Regions from separate parts of the Homo sapiens genome. Here regions 2 and 3 are each linked to region 1. Evidence: promoter capture Hi-C in 16 types of primary human blood cells and fetal thymus (Javierre and others, 2016). All regions are on one chromosome and are shown on one strand. The core of a region is centred on a gene start or on the middle of the fragment in contact, and the rest is flanking DNA. Distances in the headings are between cores, read along the strand shown. Region 1 holds the start of SPATA46 (spermatogenesis associated 46). Region 2 overlaps NOS1AP (nitric oxide synthase 1 adaptor protein). Region 3 overlaps UHMK1 (U2AF homology motif kinase 1).

The links. The method cuts DNA at HindIII sites, captures the fragments that hold promoters and counts their contacts. A CHiCAGO score of 5 or more calls a contact.
Region 2: a fragment that was not itself captured here is called in contact with the fragment with the promoter of SPATA46 in region 1 in 1 of 17 cell types (M1 macrophages); the score reaches 9.3 in M1 macrophages.
Region 3: a contact is called between a fragment that was not itself captured here and the fragment with the promoter of SPATA46 in region 1, in 1 of 17 cell types (M1 macrophages). The highest score is 5.0, in M1 macrophages.

The regions. Positions count from the first base shown.
Region 1 is chr1:162,374,772-162,379,169 of GRCh38, reverse strand. SPATA46 (spermatogenesis associated 46) reads left to right here and starts at 2,316. Exons shown (of 3, transcript NM_182581.4): 1 at 2,316-2,482; 2 at 3,767-3,880. The coding sequence starts at 2,380. It also overlaps a transcript of C1orf226 not described here. The HindIII fragment of the contact is 3,530 bases long and covers 1-2,532 here.
Region 2 is chr1:162,148,606-162,153,003 of GRCh38, reverse strand. All of the region lies in intron 1 of NOS1AP (nitric oxide synthase 1 adaptor protein), which reads right to left. The region is part of intron 3 of LOC105371475 (a long non-coding RNA gene); the gene reads left to right. Among named protein-coding and RNA genes, the nearest start is that of MIR4654, 6.3 kb to the left of the region's middle. RefSeq lists an enhancer at 594-1,094. The HindIII fragment of the contact is 8,322 bases long and covers 1-4,398 here.
Region 3 is chr1:162,510,310-162,514,707 of GRCh38, reverse strand. UHMK1 (U2AF homology motif kinase 1) reads right to left here. Exons shown (of 8, transcript NM_175866.5): 5 at 2,132-2,208; 6 at 1,885-1,983. Among named protein-coding and RNA genes, the nearest start is that of UHMK1, 15 kb to the right of the region's middle. The HindIII fragment of the contact is 5,815 bases long and covers 1-4,398 here.

The DNA.
Region 1 (4,398 bases), core at 1,067-3,566:
TAATGGCAATGGAGGACAGAGAGATGACTGGACCCCAGCCAGGTGGCCCTCCCAACAGTACCCCCCAACATGCACACACCCAAGCAGAGGAGGGCATCTGGGGATGTAAGTCATCCACAAAAAAACAGGATATCTTACCTGTCCGAGAAAGGGGCTCGGAAAGCAGGTGGGAAACAAACAAAAGAAAGACACATTTTACGTAGTGACCAGTCACTTTGAGAGTGTCACCTCCTGCCTGGGCCACCAGCACCAGCATACCTCGGGGGGACACAGCACACAAGACAGGGGACCTGCTACGAGGAGTGGTGTGCACCCTGGAACCGCCAGGCTCCCACAAACTTTTCAGTGACTAAACCAAAACCGGGTCGCATTTTAAAAACTCTACACAGGCACTGAGAGATTCTGCCTCCCATATTTCCCCCCAGTATTTTAAGCTCCCTTTACTTTAAGTCTGAGGTTGCAGTGGGAGAGTCTGAAGTTGGCAGTCGGAGAAATGTGATGGGTCAAGACAGAATGCAATTCCAAGTCCTCGGGGTCCTGTGTGCATCACTCACAAGTATGCTACTGTCCACATGTCAGTCACTGGGTTTTAGCCAGGAAGATGTTCATCCATTCCAGTTTAGAGTCTAAACTAATAACATGGGTAAACCAAGTAGCAGAGAGATTTGCCCAATATCACACAGGTAGCTCATGGCGGAGCAGGGTTAGAAGTCACATAAGCTGATGCCCAGACTCATGAGCTTTCTCTACACCATAATGGACCAAATGAAATTGCTGATACCCCCCAAACTGCCAAAGTATGTGGCTTCAACTTACTTTCCAATACATGCTAATGTTCCAAACCAGGCTATCTGGGAGGAACACGAGGGGAATCATGTTCTCCCATTGTCCTTCGAATGTTTCAGTACCGTGAATAAATACACACAGGAAGACAACTCTGGGCTCTCACGTGCAGAAGCTAACTCACACCTCACTCACACATGCTCGACAGCACTGCAAAACAAGCCCATCACTATTTCCAGAGCGGCCATAGCTCCCCATGCAGCATAAACATACCTGCCATCTAGATCTGCAGCCCTGCTCTGTATCTAGTTGACATGTTGTGATAATCTAGAAAGGGGTGTCTTCAGCTTATCTTCCAAGTGTCACAATCATCTTTCACCTTATTCCACACCTCGTTAGTGCACAAGGTTGTTATAGGACAAGCGAAACGAAGAGGCAACCTTGCCTCTCTGGAGTCCCAGAGTCTCCCCATCAAACTGACTTAAGCAATGAGCAAAATAGTATTGAGTAAGCCACCCATTTGTGCTTTAGTCACTTGCTAAAAAGAGCACCAACCACTGAAAACAATATTTGGCCCCTATTCTTAGGAAATACACATTGAAGTACTTAGGTATAAAAGGACATAGTGTTTATAACTTACCTTCAAATAGTTCACAGAAAAAATTAAGTATATACACATACACATGGGGCAGGGGGCAGGAGGAAGGGGACGGATACAGCAAATGGGGTAAAATGTTAATAGGAAAATCTGGATACAGGGCATAAGGGTGTTCTTTGTATTGATTTTATTTTTTGCAGCTTTTAAGATGGAGTCTCGCTCTGTCACCCAGGCTGCAGTGCAGTGGCGCTATCTCAGCTCACTGCAGCCTCTGTCTCCCAGGTTCAAGCGACTCTCCTGCTTCAGCCTCCCAAGTAGCTGGGATTACAGGCACCCACCACCACGCATGGCTAAATTTTATATTTTGAATAGAGATGGGGTTTCACCATGTTTGTCTAGCTGGTCTTGAACTCCTGACCTCAAATGATCCACCCGCCTTGGCCTCCCAAAGTGCTGGGATTATAGGCCTGAGCCACTGCACCCAGCCTAATTTCTGCAACTTTTACAAATTTGAATTTCCAAAGAAAATGTGAAAAATATATACACCTCAAAAAACAAACTAAAACAAAACAATAAAAATATTTGCTGACAGAGATTAGGCTGATAAAGGAGAAGAAAAGGAAGGAGATTATTCAGACAGGACAGAGGTTTCCAGGGCTGGAGGGCTGGGGGTAGACAGTGTCAACACAGAAAACTGATGATAACAAAGATAAAAGGGGACAAATAGACAGCATCACTACAGTATCTCTACTACATTCTTCTCTCTGGGTATTGTCAATCAGGGCCTGCCACTGGGCAATGGCAAGTCAAATACAATCTTTACACATTTTAATCTTGCTTTCAGTAGACTCCATTCATCTTCCAAAGGGTAACCTAGTTGGTAGTGGAATCATGTGCCTTGTGACATCAACTGTGCTCAGAATGTTTATCCTCTGGACAAACCAGCCAGCCTCTCCAGAGCAGGCGTGTGATCTCTGTACCCCCGCAGTGGTCAGAATATGGAGAACTTCTCACTCCTCAGCATCTCTGGACCTCCAATCTCTTCCTCCGCCCTGAGTGCTTTTCCCGACATTATGTTCTCTCGTGCCACCAGCCTGCCAGGTAAACTTTGGTGCCACTAGGGCCACAAAGATGTGGTTTTTTTTGAAGCTTTTAATTGAGTACCCTACCAGATCATGTTACAGGACCATGATTTAGTGAGAAAGTCAAATTACGCATGGGGAGAAAATAATTTTTCAAAATGCTGCATTTGTGGTAAGTAGTTACTGCTGTGTATTGATTTTTGGTAAGGGAAGAAAGGGGAAAACTTTTTTTTTTTTTTTGAGACAGAGTTTCACTCCTGTCGCTCAGGCTGGAGTGCAATGATGTGATCTCGGCTCACTGCAACCTCTGCCTCCTGGGTTCAAGTGATTCTCCTGCCTCAGTCTCCATTTATCATCAAGTTTTTCCCCCTAGATTGTGCATGAAATCTCAAGGTGGCAGTATGTCTACATAGAGTAGAAACTAGTTTTAGCTCTGTTTTGACAAGTTTGGAGAGGATTTGGAGTTAGCCAAATCAGAGAAGCCTAAGCAGCAGCGTAAACTGATGAGCACATCATGGAATAAAGTTGGACACCCTGAGGACTCCCTGTTCAAAATACGGTCCTTAGACTTGCAACGTCTGCATCGTCTGGGAGCTTGTTAGAAATGCAGAATCTCAGGTTCCCACCCCAGATCCACTGAATCAGCATCTGTGTTATTAACAAGATCCCTAGGGGATCTCTATGCACAGTAAAATGGAGAAGTACTGCTCAGTGGAGTAGGCCTCCTAAGCATCCATTTGTCTACATATATGACATTTATAAATTTGTCCCCCAAACTGAACACAGCTGCTATTCTGGGATTTGAGGCAGGTCAGCTTTTTGTCCAAGTGTTAGCACTCCAGGGTGTGCCGTGCAGTGATGGCCCACGGGAACCCTGACTGTGGGTATGAGATGTTTCAACTGGACAATCCTCAAAGCGGGCATGGAACATTGCTCTGCAGCCTGTGACTCTGGGTCCCAGGATGCTCAGGAGACTGGCAATGCGGAGTGAAGCCATCCGCGTGATGAGATGCAGGAGGGTTAGGTGAGGGGCAGGCCAGGCGGAGAGGTGTCATCTGGGCTACATCATAAATCCCACTTTCCAGAGGATCTTTCTGAGGCCTGAATGAAATGGCCCCATTCAGAATTCCCCAGGATGTCATCCAGAATAGCTCTGCCTGGCTGAGTTTGAGAGGTCACTGTTCTGTTTCAGCGTTGAGATGCCTTGAAGTACAGAGGTTGAGCCCCTAGGTATGCCTGGGGGAGTCCCAGAAAGTGGAATCCCAACCTTGCTCAGCTCACCAGTGTTTCTTCTATAACCCAGACATTGCAAAGACAGCAGTACCCACTGAGGCATCCAGCCCAGCTCAGGCCCTGCCACCCCAGTACCAAAGCATCATTGTCAGGCAAGGGATACAGAACACAGCGCTCTCACCAGGTGAGGACTTCTCTGACTCTGGGCGGGAATGTGTGAGAGGCTAAGGATGAAAAGGGGCTGCTTCCCTAAGGAAGCAGAGGTGTCTGGAAGCTGGACCCCCATGCGCGGTCTTGTCACCTGCAGCCTCCTATCTGGCCCTTCTTCCTTTGGTAGACACCCACAGGCCTGGGGCTCTCGCCTTGCCTCCCCTCTCCTGTCTCTGAAACTGGTGTGCAAGAGCAGTTTCTGGCTGAGTGGGCCGTGGAGGGATCAAGATGAGCAGTGAGGCTGAAAAAAGGGTCACAGCCATGGGTGGCGAAAAGAGGGACTGTGGGAGGCCGCCGGTTTGGCTATCCGCTGGGTCACCTGTCTGTGTCTATCCTTAGAGGAGTCAGTGGACATGGTGTCTCCAGGAGGGGAAGGCCTCGACAAATACCAAGGCTTACCAACTAAAAGCAGCCTCTCCTGCCCCAAGATCCAACGGCCCTTTGTACCCCTAGAAAAAGAATGCAGTGAGAAGGAATGCCCTCGGCTGCTCT
Region 2 (4,398 bases), core at 955-3,454, 230 kb after region 1:
GATTCATTGGGACTTGCCTTTCCTTATTATACATAAATTACATAAAACAGCCCAAGGGATATACTAGAAATTAAGAGCCCAGACTAACTTAAAAGTCTACCCAAGCAAAGATTCCATTAAGAGTGAAGATAAGACTGCGACATCTGTGCGGGAAAGGGATGTCCTGTAGTTACGGGAAAAGCAAGTTTTTCCCGAAATTTGGAGCTGAGGCCTGACCCCAGTGAGGAGGGTTTCAAAAACTAAATACCACAAAGGGATTTCCCCTAGTATTGATCAACAGTTTGTGCTAATACACTGAAGAACACAGCTGGCAAGCAGTGAGCACATTGCAGTTTGGCCCCAAGGGGACAGCCCCACCACGGCCCATGGGGAGCAACACAGCTATTGAAGAACCTTGCAGCTTGCTGAGGTAAACAAAACCACTTAGATCTGATAGCGTGGCCAGATTTAACTGTGGTTACATTTTTCCTTCTGAGCTCTGCTGAGGCGGTACAGTCTGTCAACAAGACAGCGACCCAGAGCTAGGGATGACGTAAGGCCCAGATTCGTGATTGCCCAACTTCACAGGCCCTCCAGCTGGGGGCAGTTTCCATGCCCCCTCTCCTTGACACTGCACAGCTGATGGCTCCTGCCCTGAATGCTGTGCAGTCAGGAACACACAGGCCTTGAGGGGCTCATGTTCCCTCAGCCATCACATGAGAGCTAGGGCCACAGGACCGAGAAAGGTCACCCATCACAGGGAGCCTGGGGGACTGTATAGTCCTCCCACTGGATCCCTGCAGACCAGGAAAGGGGCTGCTGCCCAGTGAGACCCACCATTGGGCCTAAACACAAATACCCAGATGGGACCCATCCCTATCCTGCTACCATGACCCTGGCCCATTTCTACCTCTTCTGGAAGAGGCACTGCTGGACTGAGAAAGCCAAAGGAAACATAGGATGCAGGGAGGACAGGTGGAGAGAAGAGGCAGCTTCGAGTTTTGGACAAGGCTTCCTAACAAGGGGCTCACATTAAGACATCTACCATCTTCACCCCACAAGTAACTCCTTCACTACATCAGCCACTACCCCAGCTGGTATGTGTGCATACATGTACCACACACCTTCACACACAGTCATGGTGCGCATGTACATGTACATGCACACCCCACATGCCACACACTTGCCTCACCCCACACCCCTACTAACACATCACACTCACACCACACACTCACTTGCTCTTCTTCCTTCCTTCCTTCTCATTCATGCAAAGAAAATCACTAATCTAAATACCTAGAAATTAGCTTAACCAAAGAAGTGAAAGATCTCTACAATAAAAACTACAAAACATTAATGAAAGAAATTGAAGAGGACACAAAATAATGGAAAGATAACCCATGTTCATGGATTGGAAGAATCACTATTGTTAAAGTGTCTGTACTATACAATCCCTATCAAAATACCAATGACATCCTCCACAAAAATAGAAAAAACAATCCTAAAATTTATATGGAGCCATAAAAGACCCAGAATAGCTAAAGTTATCCTGAGCAAAAAGAAAACAGCTGAAGGAATCACATTACCTGACTTCAAATTAGGCTATAGAACAAAACATGTAACCAGGTACATGCTACAGAACATGCACATGTACATGCTACAGAACATGTAACCAAAACAGCATGGTACTGGCATAAAAACAGACACATAGACCAATGGAACAGAATGGGGAACCCGGAAACAAATCCATACATCTACTGTGAATTCATTTTTAACAAAGATGCCAAGAACATATATTGGGGAAAGAATAGTCTCTTCAATAAATGGTGCTGGGAAAACTGGATATCCATATGTAGAAGAATAAAACTGGACTCCTATCTCTCACCATATACAAAAATCAAAACAAAATGAACTAAAGACTTAAAACTAAGACCTCACACTATGAAACTGTTAAAAGAAAATGTTGGGGAAACTCTCCAGGACATTGGACCGGGCAAAGATTTCTTGAGTAATACCCCATGAGCACAGGCAACCAAAGCAAAAATAGACAAATGGGATCACATCAAGTTGAAAAAGTTTCTGCACAGCAAAGGAAACAATCAACAAAGTGAAGAGACAATCCACAGGATGGGAGAAAAAATCTGCAAACTTCCTATCTGACAAGGGATTAATAACCAGAATATATAAGAAGCCCAAACAACTCTGTAGGAAAAAAATCTAATAATCTGATTTAAATATGGGTGAAAGATCTGACTAGACATTTCTCAAAAGAAAACACACAAATGGGAAACAGGTACATAAAAAGGTGCTCAACATCATTATCAGAGAAATGCAAATCAAAACTACAATGAGATATCTTTCACCCCAGTTAAAATGACTTTTATCCAAAAGACAGGCAATAATAAATGCTGGCAAGGATGTGGAGAAAAAAGAACCCTCGTATACTATCAATGGGAATGTAAATTAGTACAACCACTATGGAGAACAGTTTGGAGGTTCCTCAAAAAACTAAAACTAGAACTACAACATGATCCAACAATCCCATTGCTAGGATACCCAAAAGAAAGGAAATCAGTATATTGGTGAGATATCTGCACTCCCAGATTATTGCAGCACTATTCACAATAGCCAAGATTTAGAAGCAGCCTAAGTGTCCCTCAAAAGACAAATGGATAAAGAAAATGCAGTAAAATGGAATACTATTCAGCCATGAAAAAGAATGAGATCCTGTCATTTGCAATAACACAGATAAAAATGGAGGTTAGTGAAATAAGCCAGGCACAGAAAGACAAACTTCACATGTTTTCACTTATTTGTGGGAGCTAAAAGTTAAAACAATTCAGCTCATGGAAAGAGAGAGTAGAACAATGGTTACCAGTAGGTGGGAAGGGTAGTTGCAGCAGGGAGGGAAGGATGGTTAATGAGTACAAAAATATAATTAGGTAAAATGAGTAAGATCTAGTATTTGATACCACAATAGGATGACTATAGTCAACAATAACTTATTGTACATTTAAAAATAACAGAAAGAATGTAATTGGATTATCTGTAACACAAAGAAAGGATATATGCTTAAGGTGATGGATACCCCATTTACCCTGATGTGACTATTATGCATTGCATGCCGGTATCAAAATATCTCATGTGCCCCCATAAACCTATACACCTATTATGTACCCACAAAAATTGAAAATAAATTTTTTAAAATAAAATAAATTACAAACAAGAATCACTAATCTGCCTTTTTGAGAATGTGTCTGGAATAAATAACCTGTTTTCGCTATAGCTGCACCTTAGGGTCATCCAGAGAGATTAAAACGATACACAAAGCAGGATTCAGGTCTGCATCTCCTAGACAAAAGCTAAACATCCACTCTAATAACATGAATCAAGAGCAGAACTACAGTGCCAGGGAAGCAAAGGGTCAGAAAGTCTACTGCACAGGGCAAAACCAGAGGGTGTGGTATGTGAATACTTTCTTTACACATATGACACCACAACAAAGAGTACCTTGATAACTAATCATTACCACCTCCACAACTAACTTCTGTCTGTCCCTGAGTCTTCATCTTGAGCAAAGTGTAAGACACCATCTAAGACCAGACATACTTGCTGGAGGGTGGCCCTTCTAACTGCTCAACTTCAAGCAATTCTGCAGTAAACTGAACTCAGGCAGACCCTCCCACTCTTGACTGGAAGGTTAGCTCAGCAGGTAGATGAAGTTCAGGCCTAGGAGCCAACAACCTTCAGATATCCAGGCTCTGTCAATTCCTACAGGGGTCAGGCAACACCAATTCCCTGCCTTCAGTCAAAGACTGATACACTGGTGGCAGTTGATCACTTTGAAACAGCACTCCTTTTATCTGCCTCTCCTGCAGGATGCAGGCTCCCACACGTTCCTAGGGCAATGGAGCTGGGTTGGCCTGATGCCTGGGAATTGGAGGAATATATTTCAAAATGGAAACTCATCCTTTTTCCCCTCCTTCTCCCATGTCATGTTCCTCCTCTAGCCTTCCTCATCCTGATTAGCAGCCCCCAGGAAATCCACCGGTTTTTCAAGCATGAAACTTGAGTCATCCCCGAACGTGCTTCTCCCTTACCCGTCACAGCTAATCAGTGATCAGGACCTCCCAATTCTCTCCCCTCTACCTCTCTGTCTACACTGCCATTACCTGATCCCAGAAAATCTTCCTCTCTCACTTTGTCTATACAATGGCCTCCTTACTGGTTTCTCCAGTACCCACATGGCCCTCTGCAAACCATTCTCCATGAAGCTGCCAGAGTGATCTCTTTACAAAGCAAATTGGGTCATCTTATTCCCTTCTTTAAGAACCTCCCACACTTGCTTCCATTTGCTCAAAGATGGCAATCAAAATCCTCAGCATGGCCTACATAGCCACATGGTCCAGCTTCATCTCACAC
Region 3 (4,398 bases), core at 1,202-3,701, 140 kb before region 1:
CAAAACCCCAACCTGCCTCACTTCTTGCTCTCATATCCACTTAGTCACTGCATTTAGATAGATTGGCTCCTTGCAAATTATTTCTCCTTCCTTCTTTCCTTCCTTCCTACAATAAATATTTGAGTGCCTACTGTGTGTCAGTGCTATTAATATAGCAATAAACAAAACAAACCAGATTGTATTCTAGTGGTTAATAATAGGTAATATTTGTTGAGTGTTTACTATTTGCCAGGCATGGTTCTAGGAAATGTTTATACATTATTTAATTTTCACAACAACTCTACAAGATAGGTACTATTTATTATCTCCATTTTATAGATGAGGAAACTATAGTTTCCTTCTTTTGCAAAAAACTGCAAAGAAGCTAGTAAGTGAGAGACATCATGTAAACTCAGTCTACCCTCTTTTTTTTTTTTTTCCAGAGATGGTCTCACTCTGTTGCCCAGGCTGGAGTGCAGTGGTGCAATCTCGGGTCACTGCAACCTCTGCCTCCTGGGTTCAAGTGATTATCCCACCTCAGCCTCCCGAGCAGCTGGGATTATAGGCATGTGCCACCACGTCCAGCTAATTTTTGTTAAGCCTACACTCTTAACCGCTACACAAAATTGTCTCTCTAGTACTAGTAACAATAGGTTGATGCAAATGCTTCACAACTGTTGTCCTTGGTCTAAGTTTGGCCCTGTTTTAGTCCACTCCCTCTCTGTTTCCAAAATGTCCCTACTAAAATACAGGTTTGACTATGTCATTCTCCAATTTAAAATTATTTAATAAACTCCTTACTGCATTCAACAAAGAACAGATAGGTATTGAATACTTAATCATAAACTAGATATTATTCTATACCTGACGCAAAGTTCTTCACATATCTGTATTTTGGTGTTACTATCTCTCGGATAAAATCCAAATTCTTAAACATAGCAAACTCGTCTGTACTCTGGCTACCTCGTTAGCTTTAACTGATTGCTCCCCAACAAATATCTTAAGATACAGTCATACCAATTTGCTGTTTTCTGACACTTTCATATCTATGTGTTTGTGCTACTTACTTCCTAACCCCTCAACTTTTAGTCAAGCAACTCCAAATTACTGAGCTCAGATATAACGTCTGTAGAGAAGCATTCACCAGTTACTAAGATTGGGTTAAGTACTTGTCCTTTCTGCCATTGTATAGTACCCTATCTTCAGATTATCACAACTATAATTGTTTATGTAGCCGTATCCCCTACTATACTAAAGACGGGAAGTAATCCCACAACAGCACATAGTAAATACTCAGTTAATATGTCTTAAATGAATGAATGTTAAAAGCAAAAAAGAGAGCTAAAATGGAGAAATGCAAGCATAGGGAAAGGCTAGAAGAGACAGACCAGAGAGATAGAAGTTGTTGGGAAAATTAATCTTCTTCATTAACTGGGTAAAGATGAAACGTAAAAGAGTCAAAAGGACATTATGAATTAAAAAGTGAGAGGGCTGGGCACAGTGGCTCACACCTGTAATCTCAGCACTTTGAGAGGCTGAGGTTGGTGGATCACCTGAGGACAGGAGTTCGAGACCAGCTGACCAATATGGTGAAACCCCGTCCCTACTAAAAATACAAAATTAGCCAGGTCTGGTGGCACATGCCTGTAATCTCAGCTACTTGGGGGGCTGAGGCTTGAACCCAGGAGGCAGAGGTTGCAGTGAGCTGAGATCGTGCCACTGCACTCCAGCCTGGGCAACAAGAGTGAAACTCCGCCTCAAAAAGATAAAAGTGAGAGTATATTAGAGATCATATTGTTCAATATTCTCATTAGATAAATTGAGAAATATGAAAATGTTACGGATATGTTTATTCTAGACTTATTTAAGAAAGACACATTAAAATATAATTTAGAAAACACTAACCTTCATATTCCTCTTCATTCTCAAGATAATCATCATCCAGCACATTCAGCAGTCTTAGCACTGGAGTGGGAAGCATGACCAGATCTTCAATATGAGGGGCTGTTAAAATTCATCATAATATGGTTAAATGTAAATCCCCCCAAATAAGTTGAACACCAGATAAAGGAACTTGTGAATATAAATTAGTGCTGATGTCTTGTATGACTGTCAAATGACCAAGAAAAAAATAAAAGAATACACAACTTACCAAAAGGAATGCTAAAGAATGGGCTGCACAATGCCATTTCAGCAGGAATTCTTCTGCTTGGATCATCATGAAGCATGCTAAAACACAAAAATAGGTGCCTTATCATTTCTGCTGAATCTTTTGAAAATGCAACCATTAAAGAAAGTAAGAATGTCTGAATGTTCATCACAGCATTAATTATATTAGCATGATTTATTGAATCATTCACTTATAAATACAAATGCTATTTATTAGTAAATGGTTTAGTAATTCATGATACATACCTATGACATTATACTGTGATTTAAAATAACACTTTTGATTAATAAATGAAACACTGCAAAGTGATCCACACTCTGTAACAGTGAGTGACAAAAAAGACACAGATTTAGGGTAACACAATTAAAAAAAAAAGATATCGGTGGGATGATTGTTGAATCTCATCAAATTTCTCTAATAATAAAGCAACTAGATAGCAAAACCAAAAACCCATGGACAATATCTATAACAAAAACCATAAGGACACCCTAAATAGCCAAAATAATCTTGAGAAAAAAGAACAAGGCTGGAAGCACTATACTACCTGACTTCAAAAAAGTTCTATGAAGCTACAGTAACCAAAACAGCATGGTATTGATATGAAAACAGACACACAGACTGATGAAACAGATCAGAGAGCCCAGGGAAAAAAAAATATTTACAACCAACTGATTTTCAACAAAGGTGCCAAGAAAACACAATGGGGAAAGGACAGTATTTTCAATAAACGGTGCTGGGAAAAACTGGATATTAACACGCCAAAGAATAAAATTAAACCCTTATCTCTGACCTACACAAAAATCAACTCAAAATGGATTAACAATTTAAATGTAAGACCCAAAACTACTAGAAGAAAACAAGAGAAAAGCTGCACAACATTGTTCTGAGCACTGAATTTTTGAATATAACTTCAACAGCACAAGCAACAAAAACAAAAACAGACAAATGGGATTATATCAAACTAAAATCCTTCTGCACAGCCAAGGAAACAATGAACAGGGTGAAGAGACAACTTACAGAATGGGAGAAAATATTTACCAACTATACATCTGCTAGGGGAGTAATATACAAGATATATAAGGAACTCAATTTGGCTGGGTGTGGTAGCTCACATCTGTAATCCCAGAACTTTGGGAGGCAGAGGTGGGAGGACTGCTTGAGCCCAGGAGTCCGAGACCAGCCTGGGCAACATGGCAAGATCCTCTCTCTACAAAAAAATTTAAAAATTAGCTGGTGTGGTGGCATGCATCTGTAGTTCCAGGATCACTTGACCCTATGAATTCAAGGCTGCAGTGAGCCATGTTTACACCACTGCACTACAACCTTGGCAACAGAACGAGACCCTGTCTCAAAAAAAAAAAAAAAAAAAGAAAAAGAAAAAAGAAAAAAAGAGCTCAAATAACTTTATAGCAAGGAAACAAATAGCCCAATTAAAAAATGGGCAAAAGACCTGAACAAACATTTCTCAAAAGAACACATAAAAATAGCCAACAGTATATGAGAAATGCTCAATATCGCTAATCAACAGGAAAATGAAAAACCAAAACCACAATGAGGTATCACCTCATACCTATTACAATAGCTATCATCAAACAGACAAAAGACATAAAGAAAAGGGAATCCGTACACATTGTTGGTGGGAATATAAATTAGTAAAGCCATTATGGAAAGTAGTATGGAGGCCCCTTAAAAAAAATTTTTAAAAAAGAACTACCAGCAATCCCACTACTGGGTATATATCCAAAGGAAATGAAATCAGTATGATGAAGAGATACCTGTAGGCCCACGTTTGTTGCAGCACTATTCACAATATACAAGATATGGAATCAACCTAAGTATCTATTAACAGATAAGTGTTCATTTCTTGCATGTTAGCTTAAAAAAAAAATTAAAAAACAGATGTGTAAAAAGTAAAAAAAAAACAAAAAACACAGATGAGTAAAAAAAGAAAATATGATATATATATACACAATGGAATACTATTCAGCCACTGAAAGGAGCAAATCCTGTCATTTTCAACACAGATGAACCTGTAGGGCATCATGTTAAGTGTTATAATAAGCCAGGTCCAGAAAGACAAATACAGCATGATCTCACTCATATGTGAATTCTAAAAAGTGTTGATGTCACAGAAGTAGAGAGAAGAATGGTGTTACCAGAGGCTGGGTGGGGGCGTTAGAGGAGAGAGGAGTTTGGGGAGACATTGGCCAAAGCCAAAAGATGCCTAATTACAGTTAGATAGAAAGAAT